Linked DNA regions of Homo sapiens: regions 2 and 3 are each linked to region 1. Evidence: promoter capture Hi-C in 16 types of primary human blood cells and fetal thymus (Javierre and others, 2016). All regions are on one chromosome and are shown on one strand. Each heading gives the region's core, a stretch centred on a gene start or on the middle of the fragment in contact. The rest is flanking DNA. Distances are from core to core; before and after follow the strand shown.

Region 1 (4,863 bases), core at 2,231-4,730:
AATTTTCCTATAACAATAGTTGATGTCGGGGCAGAGTCATTCACACCTGGTCTGCCCCACTCCAAGCCTATCCTCTTTACTCACCACACAATATTAAAGATTTGACTGAATGTCATCACTAACTTGCTGAATGACTCAATTGAGCTGAGTTTTCAGATAATCAGTTGTACATGTAGTCACACAAAGTTATGCAAATATAAAATGTGTAAGATGAATAATAATGGTCAGGATGGAACCCGTTCTTTTCAAAAATATGATTACCCTTAGTATTTTGAAAGCAAAAAGTAGTTTCAAGCATTACTCCATTTCAGTAAGACTGCTTTGTAAAAGGTCCTAAGCTTGTTTGTGGAGTCATGATATACTATGAGAGAACAGATCCCCATGAATGGGTAGGATTTGAAAATCCTCTTGGCATCAGAAGAATGTGAAAGATTGTCCTATTTTATTCAGGGAGACCTCATTTTTATATCTAGTTGGACAGATACTAGTCAAAAGACACAGGGATTCTGTTTATACCCAGTTGAATAAGAAAAAAACCTTGCTTTGTGAACTATCACTTCCCACTGAACCAAAGAGTATATTGGATATTGCATGGTAAATTACACTGGCCACATGTGGTAGTTCCTAAGTAATTCCAGGTGTCTGACAGTTTGACCCAGCATAGGGAATGTAATTTTCAACAAGCTGGCCCTGGAAGCCAGGAGACCCTTCAGGCTACAATCTACACACTTCATTCCCAATTTCCACCTCCCCCCACCTTTGAGCTCCCCTTGCCATCATAGCCTCTGGTTCACACTGAAGCTTATGGAAGGGAGCAGGGATGCCATCACTAACTATGATTCCAACTACCACCTATTTTTCTAGCAAGGATGCTGCCAGTAAAGCAAATACTCTGGCATTTTAAAGAAGCTTAGAAATCAGGTCCCATGAACTGACAAATTGTTTCCATGCATGTCCTATTTGAGTGCTTCAATGAGGCAACTGTTTCCATGTTTGTTCCACAGTGATTGGTAACTCAGGGACACTTAATGAAACTGCTTCCTATCCATATTGACTATGGCTTTTTGAGAGCCATTAACCTTGCCAAACCTCACTCACTCTAGGTCCACCTCTAAGGGAGGTTTAAGAGCAAGTTTTGTGCTTTACGGGGAGGAATGCATTTCAGCCTGAACCACTGCCACCTCATTCCTAGCCCTTGGCCTGAGAGGAGCACCTGCATTTAACTGATTCTAAGTGCCTGGCAAACCAGAGCGGCAACTGCACTGAGCACTTCCAGACTCTGCAGTCTGTGACTTTAGTGAGTACGAAGCCTCAAGCATGCTCTTTTAGCAAAGATTAATAGCAAATACATTTCTGTGATGATTTTGCACAACTAGCTTTTGGTTCTTGATTAAAATCAAGAAGACAATAGGTATATTCAAAAAGTGATAAACTAAGTGAGGTCACCATTAAAAAGTTCTTGAAATTCTTCTGTTTATTTTTTTTCCTTCAGCTATTTTTACAATTACTTCTCCTTCTCTCACTTTGTTAAATGAGTCAACGTGCACAGAAGGTAATTTTTCCAAATCAATTTCCCGATAACTAAGAATTACTACCTGGAAATGGACTGGGGACATGCGCCTAGACTGCGCAAGTTGAAAGAGGAAGGAAAGTTGATGCCCAAGAAATAAACAGATGGAGGCAACCAAGTCAACACATCTAAGAACAGAGTTGTTGGGGGGTGGGGGATGTGGTATGAAAGAGGACCACTCATGAAAAAAAATTGCCTTCTTTATAAAATATATGAAGGGTAAAATTTGAGGTTGGGTTAGTTGGTAGAAGTAATACTGAGTTAGAATTAAATGGACCATAATGAAGTAGGTTTAGTTGGGGTCTTAAAGTTACAAATGTCATAATTAGACTAAACACTAGTGAGAAAACAACTTGTGATTGACTCCATTAAATTTAGAGCTGCAATAAAGTTTTATGGTAGGGAAAGACTGAAATGACTGTGGTTGGTGCACACACGGAAAAGGAGCATGAAATAAGGTATTAAAGACAATTTTTTTTTCAAAACATGAGAGTGGAATAAGGGGTGAGATTTAAAATAACATTACGTGAGTGTATGATAACACGCCTTAAATATAACTCCTTTCATCTGTATGCCACTTATAAAATGACTTGAAGGCATGTGGGCATGTGAAAAGAGCTCAGTAATTTCAGTCTGCCAGCTCTATGGCAAGCCACAGAAGCTAATTAACAGTGCATAGCAATGTTTCACAATTGTTTCATTCTGGAATGGAAGAACAATTTATCTCATTGAAAGGAGGGGGAAATTTAAGGTGAAGGTAATTGCTCAAACTGGATCTTGAGCAAACACATACCCCTAACATCTGTCGGTTAGAGTAAGGTTATTGAAATTATCTTGGCATTTTTAATTAGAAGAAAATGGGGCTTCAGTTTTCTGTTTCCTCCACACAATCTTAACAAGCATCTAAGACACTAAAGATACAGAAACCTGATGACTGAGATTGCCTGAGAATCAGCAAAGAAAACCCAATGATTATAAACACATTTTAAAAGAAAAAGAGCATCACTTTACAAAATGTGGCTACTTGCACATGTAAGGAGTTGAAGTGAAGGATTCCTGTGGAGTAGAAGTGTGATGGGTTTGGAATGCATGGATTGTTTTAGAAAGATCGCCTATTGGAACACAGTGCCAGAGTGCATCAGTTTGGAAGGTGATAAGGTGAGGGTTTTTTTGTTTTTGTTTTTGAAAAAAGAAGAAAGAAGAAGAAGGGTCTTTGATAGAGGAGCAGTTATGGGAGAGATTAAGTGATCCGAAGAGAAAAAAATTAGAGAGTAAAGGCTAGTAACAAGGACTCCAAGAATTGAGGAGGCTGTAGGGTAAGGGAAGGGTGGGCCGTGTCAAAACTCACCAGCTCCGTCCGCAGTAACGATGGCCTCGGGAGAGATGCACACGCCCCTGTCGTACACTGGCAGCTCCTCGCAGGCCAGGTTCTCCGGCCACGAGTGGCGGTACTTGATGAGTATGGGCTCACAGCCCTGCCGGGCCCGCTCGCACACAGACTTACAGGGCTTGATGGGCTCGTGCTGGAAGTCAATGGTGCAGATGGGCGCGTACATGGCACAGAGGAAGAAGAGCAGATCGGGGCTGCAGTGGGTGCCCAGCAGACCTTCGAACTGCTCGATGGCCAGGATGGCGTTGGCCTGAGTGCTGTGGTGCAGGTGGTTGGGCATCTTAGTCATGTTCCAGGGCAGGGACTTGCACAGGGGGATGCGGACGGGCTCACAGGCTGCAGCCCGAGCCCCGGGCACCCGGAGCAGGCAGAGAGCAGCCAGGGCAAGCAGCCCGGCCCGCAGCAGCAGCATCCCTCCCGGGCTGCCGCAGACCATGATCCCGGCAGGATGGGGCAGGGTGCAGCCGCGCAGTGGACGCCAAAAGGCCCGCTCCGCCGTCTCCGCCTCCCCCGCTGCAAGTGGACACAAGGATCTGGGAGCTTCTCCTCCCCCGGCAATCACCGCTTCCTTGGATCAAATTCCCCCAATGGGGTCCCACGAGCTTTACCGAGCTCCAGCCACCGCCCCTGCCGCCCAGGCTGCTCTTTCCCAACGTCTAAGCCTTCGGAAGCAGCAACATCTATTTATTCCTCTCCCTCTGGCAGAAGCATCAGACTTCGCAGATCAGTCAGATAAGAGGGACACGAGAGGAGGCGAGGAAGACATAAAAACAAAAGTAGAATTCAGCTGAGAGCTAGTTGGAGCTCTGGGGTGTCTCCTCCCCTAGATCACGCACACAAAAAGATGCTAAAGAAAGCATTAAATTCCCCAAAGTGAGGAGGACAGAGGGGTTGGGGGGAAGGAGGGAGGAAAAGCTCCTAATGGGAGAGAAGGGTGCAGTAAGAGTTTACAAGTCCTGTGTGGGCTAAGAGCTGCGGCCGCCGCTGCGGCTGCGACCCTGGCTGGCAGGAGGGACGCTCAGGAGGAGCCCCGCAGGGACGTCTGTGCCTCTGCCCGGGCGGCTCTGCACTTTCCTACCTCCCGCCTGAGAGGGAGCTCCGCCCCTGGGGCAGTCTCTGCCCTCCAGTGCCGGCTGCTCTTCCCGAGAATGGAGTGGGCGCCCGGGGAAGAGAAGGCCTGGGAGTCGCAGGCGGTGGGGTGCGAAGCCGTGCGAGTGCGAGACCCCAAGACAGCGCCGAGTCGAGCGCGCCCTCACACTAGGGAACCCGTCTTTGGCCCCAGAAACGAGCCCCTAGCCCCTCACTGAAGAGCCCACCCCAATTCCCTACGGAAAAGTCCCCCTAGTTCCCCACTTGGGAACCCACCCGAGACCCTCCTTCCTGGAGGTATTTCCTTTAAGCAAACTACAGCTTTTCCTCTGCAATCACTGGCTCTGCAGAAAGTCAGACCTGGTGGGGGGAAAGGCTTAAGCAATGTCACTTTGTCCAAGTAGCGGAAAACACAGACCCCTGCGAGCAACGGTGGAGCCATATCAACCCAGAGCTAGTGACTACAGAGGTCTCCATTTTCAATAACTGCGGGGGAGGAGGTGGGGGGAGGATTGCCTTTAAAAAAAAAAAAAAAGAGAGAGAGAAACAAAGAAATGCTGTTCATGACTACAAATAGGCCACCAGAAGCAAGGAAAAGGGGTTTTTTCCTTCTATTCCCGCCCCCCCCACCTAGTGGAATTAGAACTCTTGAGCTTTGCTCCTTAAGGGTTAACGTGGAAACTAACAGCTCTAATACACTTGGACTTTTTTTTTCTGATTTTGCTCACGGATAACATGGCAGATATTATTTGTTATTCTCAGCAACAATTCTGCCCGACACTTAAAAAAAAAGTGTAGGAAAACGACATCACGC
Region 2 (4,556 bases), core at 98-2,597, 640 kb before region 1:
TTGTCAAGCTGACAGTGTAACCTAGTTTAGACAAAATAGTCAATACATTCATAAACTCATGTTGTCTTCCCTTTCTCCATCTATGGTAAAAGTTCTCATTATTCTCTTTAGTTCAAAGGTATTTTCTTGGTTCTGGAAAACACTAAAGGTCTACCACCAGACTATTTTTGTAATGGTTAAATTAATGGATGAGTAAAGAGGCCAGTGACACATTTTTGCTAAAGGATGAATAAAATCAGAAAGTTACATTTATATTTGGTAAGTCATAGCTGTCTCAGAAAGTGACTATGTGATCTTTGCTAACAACTTTAACTTTCTAGGAGTCATGCGAGGCTGGGCCAAATTCCCTAGTCTTACAGAGAAGTTGGAACGGCTTATTTGGTCCCATAACAGTCTTCCTTATAATTCTGAGGGTAAAACCACATTGTGGATTTGATTTTCTCTATTTACCAATTAATATGACACCCACATCTCTTCAATGTCACCTTCACACCAGGTGAAGCTGATATAGTAGACTTTTATTTGGCTCCCTTTACACTTGTAGCAAGTGTAAAAAAAATGCATTCAAGCAGGAATTTTTTTTTAAATGATGAAATTCTGGTTGCCTCCTAGGCTGAAATGGCATTTTCTCACTGCACTTCACGATTAAAGCAGGTGCTAGGATTTAGAAATCTCACATGGCCTGCTCCTTTTTTGAACCCAGCTCAGTTTTGCACCTTCACAGGAAGGTCAGTTCCTCACTTTTTACCTTCTGGGAATCATCCTGAGTTCTAAGACATTACAAAAATTCCCAACTCTCTCAGAGTTCCTGTCATACACTCACTGTTATTTCAGGCTTTGCATCACTGAATCGTTTAGTCACCCATTCACTGATTCATCAAATGCAAAGAAGAGGAAGGAAATTTTGCAAAAATTGACATTAATAATTTCCCCAAATCCCTATTAGAATTTGACTGTGATTAGTAATATGAGTAAGAGAGCAAAAGCGACTAAGGTCAGGTTAGGAGCACATAAGGAATGAGAAAAAGAGTGCTATAACTTTCTTTCTAAAGACTTTTTCTCTAGGTCACTTTTTTTGGTTGACTCCTGCAGAATAAAGGAATTTACAAACAAAAATGTTTGGTAGTCCAAATTTTGGGAAACTTTTTTTTTTTTTGCCTCTGGTTATCTTTTTTGCACTGACTTAAAGTATTTTTTGAAAAATGTGTATTATAACACATTAAGCTTCAAAAATCCAAACAATTATTCTTTATAATACTTATTACTTAGAATACCTCTATGGGCATTAAAGAGACAATAGAAACTTATAGGAATGGAAGTTTGGAATGCTTCCAAACTAACAAACCTCAGTTACAAAGACTGTCTTACCATGATACCTGTATGAAGCATTATGTAATGCACAGTTTGAGTGACATCAGCTGCATGAATCAAATTGTGATATGGATTTTTGTACTTGCTGTAACCAACTTCTAAAGCTTCTGCAAAGGTGATTAGGCAAGAAACAGGAATCTGTGGAAAGTAATAATTATAATTATATTTTGACCAAAAAAGTGGTACTAAATCAACCTGAGCACTGTTTGTCATGGAACATATTAGTGAGTCAGATGTGGACAGTAGTTTCTTTATGTCAAATGTTGATTGTTCTGAAAAACCACTTCATGAACATGTTAACTTTCATTCCCAAAAAGAAAGATTGTAACCCCCAAGTATTTGACTAGGACAGATTAAATAATAGCCTTACTTGTACTATAGGCTTGAAATTTTAGTATCTTCCGGAGAGTAGGAAGGCTAATTCGTAGAAGGGTAAATATTTCCAGTTACAATTAGTGGAGTCTAGTTTTTCTATCTTAATACAAAGAGGTTAAAATAGATTATCTCTCAGTACTTTATAGCTCTAAAAATGTGATGATTCTACAGGAAATGATGAAAGTAATAAGCTACAATCTGCTCAGTAGTCTGTATCAAATCTATTGCTTGGATGGTTCTAAATGAAGTTAATTAGAAACCCCTTCATTCTAATTTAAGAAAAGCTGGCAATAAAGGTTCATTCTGTATTTTAGGAATGCTGGAGTAGTCATATTTCTTTAAGACATAGCTGCCAAACCCTATGTGAGTGTTTTGTGAATAAGTCAGGGGATATTGGCATCTTGCTGGAATGAGGCTATAGTGGCCTCATGATCTCTAGGTGGATATATAGATGTGTCAGTGACTTGTGGAGAATGGTTCTATCATATAAAGACCTCATCACCTTAATTCTGTGACCTGCTAACTAAAACATCCTAAAATGAATTGCTTAATTACTCAAATGTTCTGCATTTTCATTCTTACTCAAATAACCAATTCTAAGAGCATTTCACTTTTGTTCCATGTTTCTGACCTTGAAACGGTTGATAAGATCATATCTGGTAAACAGTTCATAAATCATAAACTTCAGACTATGCTCTCCACTTGCTTCATTTAGGGCAAATACATCGAAAGACCATTTATCAACATCCTGTAGAAAAAAGAATAAATACTTTAGGTGCCAATATCATACTGTTTCTACGAGAATTTATTCAAAAGATAAGGCATTGTACATTTAGCAGGTCATCTTTCAATTTAGCATGTCAAACTACACTTTGACCAGAGTTTCATAGGACAGGACCACTTAGTATCCATGGGTCCACAAAATTGAGGCCATAATGCTTTATAAAGCATCAAAACCTTTTCTTTAATCCCAAAGTTACTAAAGTGATTTAATACATTTGATAATACCATAATACTGCCATTATCTTTAATCTCTCTCCAACTTCCTGCCATAAATCATTTTCTCAGAGTGGACCTCAATTTAGGGTAGAATTGCTAGTTACATAGATGATGTCAATTGGGAAATACAGAAAAAATAGTCCCGGTTTTTCTTTCTTACTCACTTGCTACATTGCTTGAAATTTCACCATAAGAGTTTGCAGTTTGGCTAAAGTTTTGATATTTATGTCCTGTTTTAAGATGTAAATATCGGCCTGGTGTGGTGGCTCATGCCTGTAATCCCAGCACTTTGGGAGGCTGAAATGGGCCAATCACGAGGTCAGGAGTTCGAGGCCAGCCTGACCAACATAGTGAAACCCCATCTCTACAAAAAAATACAAAAATTAGCCAGGTGTGGTGGTGCACGCCTGTAATCCCAGCTAATCAGGAGGCTGAGGCAGGAGAATCGCTTGAACCCAGGAGGCAGAGGTTGCAGTGAGCCAAGATCGCACTACTGCACTCCAGCCTGGGTGACAGAGTGAGACTCCATCTCCAAAAAGAAAGAAAGAAAGATAGAAAAATATGTAAATATCATAGCGAGATAGAGTATACACTATCTTTAATTATTAAAAGGTATTTTTTACACTACTTTTCAACTATTATTATTTGCTCTATCTTTGGCTGATTTACTAATACTTTGCTTGAGGGACAAGTGGTGAGGAAAAGGAAGTGGGCCTTTTGATTGAGGAGGAGGATAGTAATACTCGCATTTCATGCAGTTCCCTAGGGAAGCAAGCAGGCCAGTAGGGAAACTGGAAAGTACCCCCTAACAGAGAGAGAGGAGAGTGAGCAGGGATATAAACCACTCCAGCCACCTCATGATTTTGCTTTGAAAATCTATAGAAGCACTGTAGTCCATTCTAATGGTTATCAGAAACTGCTAGCAGGAAGGCCTACTGTTTATACACATACAGTAGGTTTAGTATTGAACAGTAAGTGGGCAACCATAAAGCTATGCGTTAATTTTCTATTTGAGTAGGCACGTTTCAAATTTCATTCAACACATTTTTCTGGAGGCCAACTCTATGTGCTATAATATGCTAGAACCAAACTAAAAATCTGATAAAAAGTATTCAGTCTCTTTTAAAAATACTTCCTTCAAAAAATAATAGTAAGAGCTTCAAATGGTATTTTTAATCACTTGGAAACAAGCACCAATGAAACAGTTTTTGGTTTGCTTGTATGTCGTTATTAAATTCCTTGCATTTGGCCCTTATTTGATCCCCAAATGCTTGCTTTATCTCTTTATATATTAAAAGTTATTATAAGTTCTGTTAGAAGGCATTTTACATCAGTAAATCTCAAAGGAGGTCAATAAATCTTTTATCAAACTCCAAAGCTAACAAACAAGAGTTAGTTCAGACTCTTAGAAGGTTGCTATTTATATTTACAGTTCCAACTTGGGGGTTCCCACTGAGTAAAAGGTTAATTCTTTATTTCTTGAGAATTTTTTATAAACCCTGATGATTTACATTTCTAAACTACTGCAGATGCTTGGCTTTTATGTCATCAGATTGAGAACAAACAGGACAAGGAGGCTTCTCAGAAAATAAGAATTATTTAACTAAAACATTCTTTACTTGGTGATATTCCCTCTCTCAACCTGTTAGTTTATATCTTTTTTACTATACAACACTTTAGAAAAAATACTACATTCTCTCATACTAAAATATTTTGTTAGTTGGTTTTTAAGCAAAAATTCTTAAAATAAATAAAATAAAAATGAGTAATTTTCTTGCTCATTGTTAAGGAAATAATAGAGAAGGCAAAAT
Region 3 (4,487 bases), core at 127-2,626, 680 kb before region 1:
GGAGGAATCTAGAGAAGCAGTCTGGACACAGCCGCTTTGCTGTGTTGTGGTGAATTTTGCTTAGTCCAAACCTCTCAGTCTCCTTCACACTGTCAGGGGAAAACCGCCTACTAAAGCCCAGCAGTTTGCTTATTTTGTGCAACACTGTGTCCTTCATTCCTGTGGTGATTAGTTAAATTTTAACAGTTTTATACTGTTCCATAATATGTACATACTACAGTATATAAATCAATTTTACTGTTTTTTACACTTTATTTTGCAGTCATGAACAATGCTGCTGTGAATATTTTAGACATGTCTTTGATGCATATGCACAAAAGTCTCTCTGGGGTAAAAATACAGAAGCAAAATTGTCGAGAAGTATGGCACATGCATCTTTAAATTTCCTACAGAATGCCAAATTGTTCCATGAAATGATTATATAATTTTACCTATATACAAATAATGTGTAAGAAAACCAAAAAGCCTGGCATCATTTTTGATTCTTCTCTTCACTTTGTTTCCTACATCTAATCTGGTAACAAATCCTATCAGTTCAGCTTTCAAAATATCTGTATATCCAGAATCCAATCTCTTTTTGCTTACCCTCCTTCTACTCACACATACTGCCACAATCTTTACATATCCAGAAATTATAGACCCTCTCAACCATTACTACTTGGTCTAAGCTCCCATGTGTCTCCTGGGTTATGAACAACAGCCTTCCTTCTGATCTCCTTGTTTCTATTTTTACTACCCAAACAAAAGCACATTTTCCATTCTGTAGCAGAGTAATCCTTTTGAAACCTCAGTTCAGATCAATCAACATTTTTTCTCAAAACTCTACATTTGGTTTCCTGTCTTTCTCGGGCCAAAACCAAAGGTCAGGCACCACATTCCCCACTCATCACATTGCCTACATTATTCCCACTTGTCCAATTTCTTCCTGCTTCACTGCCCTTCTTGTTGTTTCTGGCATGTCAGGCAAGCTTGGCCTCCTAGATAATGTGGTAGCCAATCCGTTTTAAAAATTTGTTAACACCCACCCTCCCAGACCTCTCCATCATTCTCTTTCTAACCTCCATTGTGTATTTATTTAAATTATTTCTTCCTCAGTGAAGGCTTTCCTTACCAGTTTACTATATAGAAATTATCCCCAATTTCCATAGTAATTAGATTTTCTTAATCTGGTAATGTCTTTATTTTTCTTTATTTCTGAATAGTTTTGCTGGATTTAGAATTCAGCATTAGGGACACCCCTAGTTTCTATATAGTAGCCCTATAACCCTTATTTCTAGAACACATGGCAGAAACATAAATAATATAGTAATAACAGCTAACTCATATAGCGCTTAGTACTCTAGACACTTCTAAGCAAATTATATTAATAAACTCATTTAATTCTCTTAAAACCTATGGTGAAGAGGAATACTTCCTGCTATAGTGATGTAAAGAAGTCGAGTTTTTTCTCTTCATGAAAAAGCAAGTGTAAAACTGGACAGCATTAATAAAAACAACTATTCAATGACTCTGGAAATCAACCAAAGGGACATAATAATTTGAGAAACATTTATTCTTAAAAAATTGTTGGACATTCAGGTAAAAACAGCAGGAACCTGTGACCTTCTTGCCTGAAGTTACTCCCACTCCTCCATCTTCCTCTCCAACTCTGACCTGGGAATGGAAGCAAAAGCCAACTTTCCTGTTGGATGTGGTAGAATCAACTTGGAATGGGAAGGCAGCAAATAATTCTGGTTACTTGAATATAAAATGGTGAATCCACTTAGACTAGATGAGGAGAGCCCCAAGCTTTGTCAGCCTAGGGTTGGGGTCCAAGTTGGGGTAAAGGGTAAACCAGCAGGATTTAACAGAAAAACCCTAGAAATTAGAGAGCCATAGAAAGGCCATTTATAGTCAGTTTTAAAATTGATTTCAAAAAATTCAAGACAAGTTTTTTAAATATGTTTTTAAAATTAAAGAAAATAATCTTGAAGAATTAAAGGAAAATATGCTAACAATGAATGAAAATATAAAATATCAACAGAGAAATAGACATTATAAAAAAGAACCAAATGGAAATAATAAAATTGAAAAAAGTAGCTGAGATAAAAAGTTAATTCAGTGAAATCAACAGCAGGATTGAGGTGGCAGAGAAAGAAACAGTAAACTTGAAGATAAATCATTAGAAAGCAGCCAATCAAAAATGAATGAAGAAGGAAGGAAGGAACAAAAGAAGGAAGGAAAGGAAGAGAAGAAAGAAAGAAAGAAAGAAAGAAAGAAAGAAAGAAAGAAAGAAAGAACAATTAAAGAAATTGACAGAGATCCAGAGCATCCAGGACAATTTCCAGAATCCTAAGTTATGCATAACACAATCCTCAGAAGGAGAGAACAGAGAGAAAGAGGCAGAAGAAAAATATTGAACAAAATGACAGAAAGCTTTCTAAATTTGAAGCAAATTATTAATTTGTGGATTTAAGAAGCTAGTGAACACTAAGTAGAATACTGAAAAAAAAAAAGACCTAGATATATCATCATCAAATTGCTGAAAGTCAAAATAAAGTCTAGAAAACAGAAAGAAAAAGATAATACTCAGTACATACAAGGAAGCAACAATACAATTTATTTTTGGCCAACACTATCAGAAACTATGGAAGCCAGAGGCAATAGAATTACACATTAAAAGTGCTAAAATAAAAAAAAATCATTCAACAATTCTAAATCAAGTAAAATTATTCATAAATAAAAGTAAGATACAGACATTCCCAGATAAAGAAAATCTAATTGTTTGTCAGTATAACTGTGTTATAAGAAAATACTTGAGAAAGTACTCCAGTGTGAAGAGAAATGATACCAAATAGTAGCTCTGACACACAAGAAGAAATGAAGAATATCATAAGGGTAAATATGTGAGAACATACAAAAGATTGCATATACGAATGTGTGTGTCTGCCATCTGTCAAGTTCTGCAGGAATTAATGTGCTATTTTTGGCTCTCTGGTCTATTCCCAAGGCCCATCTTATTATCTCTATATCACAGCCACACTAAATTTATTACTTCAGTATAAGAGTAAATTTTGATATATGGCAAGTGCTCCCACTTTATTATCCTTCAGGAGTGTCTTGAGTATTCTTAGGTATTTGCAATACCATATAGATTTTAGGATCAATTTCTTAAATTCCATGAAAAATGTATTGGAATTTTCACTGGAAACATGTTATATTTATGGTTGACATTTGGGATAATTGAAAACGTTTCAATATTGTGTCTTTCTGACTATAAATATGATTTAACACTCTATTTTGATCTTATATTATCCATTTTAAGAAAAGTAAGTTTATTCCTGAGTATATTAAAGCTGCAAAAAACACAAGGAAAAAATTTCTGGCTGAAAAAATAACTACAAAGACCCTGGAGTATTTTAAGAAACTTCCAAGAGGCCATTGTGCAGGGAGTGTAGTGTATAAGGGAGACAGAGCTGTGGGAATGAGTGTGAGAAGAGGCAGGGGCCAGATCTGGATATGAAAGCTAATTCCTGCACGAAAGATAATAACTGTTTGAATACTAACTCACAAACCTACTAAATGGACTAATTAATTTGAAGCAGCTAATATGTCAGAAATAACTGTAGCTACCTTCCCATGCGATTGCTGTGGTGGTTGATTACTAATGATTTCCCCAATTCCTGTCTAAATTCTGAGTCAAAAAAGCAACTTAGTGAAACAGAAAAAAAACACACCCAAGTCTCTGACATGAAGTGATAACACACTTAATGCAACACAAAAGCCACTTACCAAGTAAAATCCAGGCTGGAAAGCACCTCTACGAAAGCACAGGAGTTTATATGGTACCACAAAGTTTTGTCACCATTTCATTATCTCATCTTTCAGTATCCAGTTTGCCAGCACCCACTGACACACAGATCTGCAGCCCATGTGGCACAAACAAACCAGAACCTCTTTTTATCTAATAAATGAGCCAACTTTCTCATGAATGATCAAAGAGTAGCCAAATTCCCAATACCATCAAGGGCTTACATATTCTATAGAAGAAGAAATCTAGAAGAAGTAATCCAAACTCTTAGAGGAGAAGTGAAGACAGAGAGAGATGGCAGTAAGGCCTCATAAACAACACTACCTTGTGCAGCTAACTCTTTCCACCTCTCTTTGTTCTGCTGAATGATGTCCACCAGGTTGTTCTTGAAACTCTTCAGGTCCACTGCTGCAAGGGAGTAGTCTGGGGAATAGGACCCATCACTCATGGAGCCTTTTGTATTTGATCGTCTTAGTGCATCAGCAATGTGTAACCCCACAATGGTGGTTGAGCTAACAGTAACAACCAAAGAAACCAAAAAACACCATCAGGATATGGGGTGAACAAGGAAAACCTGAAAAACTTTACAAAACCGACTAGAAAAGCAGGATAGTAGATGCTCAGTCCCAGTTCTGAGCACGTGGCAGCTGCTCATCTCCTTTCTCTCCCTCCCCACACTGGATTCTCCTTAGTACAC

The links. Contacts are between HindIII fragments. The CHiCAGO score rates a contact against its expected background, and 5 or more counts as called.
Region 2: a contact is called between a fragment that was not itself captured here and the fragment with the promoter of FRZB in region 1, in 1 of 17 cell types (M1 macrophages). The highest score is 5.1, in M1 macrophages.
Region 3: a contact is called between a fragment that was not itself captured here and the fragment with the promoter of FRZB in region 1, in 1 of 17 cell types (M0 macrophages). The highest score is 6.9, in M0 macrophages.

Annotation. Positions count from the first base shown.
Region 1 is chr2:182,863,157-182,868,019 of GRCh38, forward strand. It overlaps FRZB (frizzled related protein), which reads right to left and starts at 3,481. Exons shown (of 6, transcript NM_001463.4): 1 at 2,919-3,481. The coding sequence starts at 3,396. RefSeq lists an enhancer at 2,644-3,612. The HindIII fragment of the contact is 6,424 bases long and covers 908-4,863 here.
Region 2 is chr2:182,228,638-182,233,193 of GRCh38, forward strand. It overlaps PDE1A (phosphodiesterase 1A), which reads right to left. Exons shown (of 15, transcript NM_001363871.4): 5 at 2,378-2,494; 6 at 1,369-1,509. Among named protein-coding and RNA genes, the nearest start is that of PDE1A, 200 kb to the right of the region's middle. The HindIII fragment of the contact is 251 bases long and covers 1,223-1,473 here.
Region 3 is chr2:182,181,778-182,186,264 of GRCh38, forward strand. PDE1A (phosphodiesterase 1A) reads right to left here. Exons shown (of 15, transcript NM_001363871.4): 13 at 4,115-4,302. Among named protein-coding and RNA genes, the nearest start is that of PPP1R1C, 200 kb to the left of the region's middle. The HindIII fragment of the contact is 820 bases long and covers 967-1,786 here.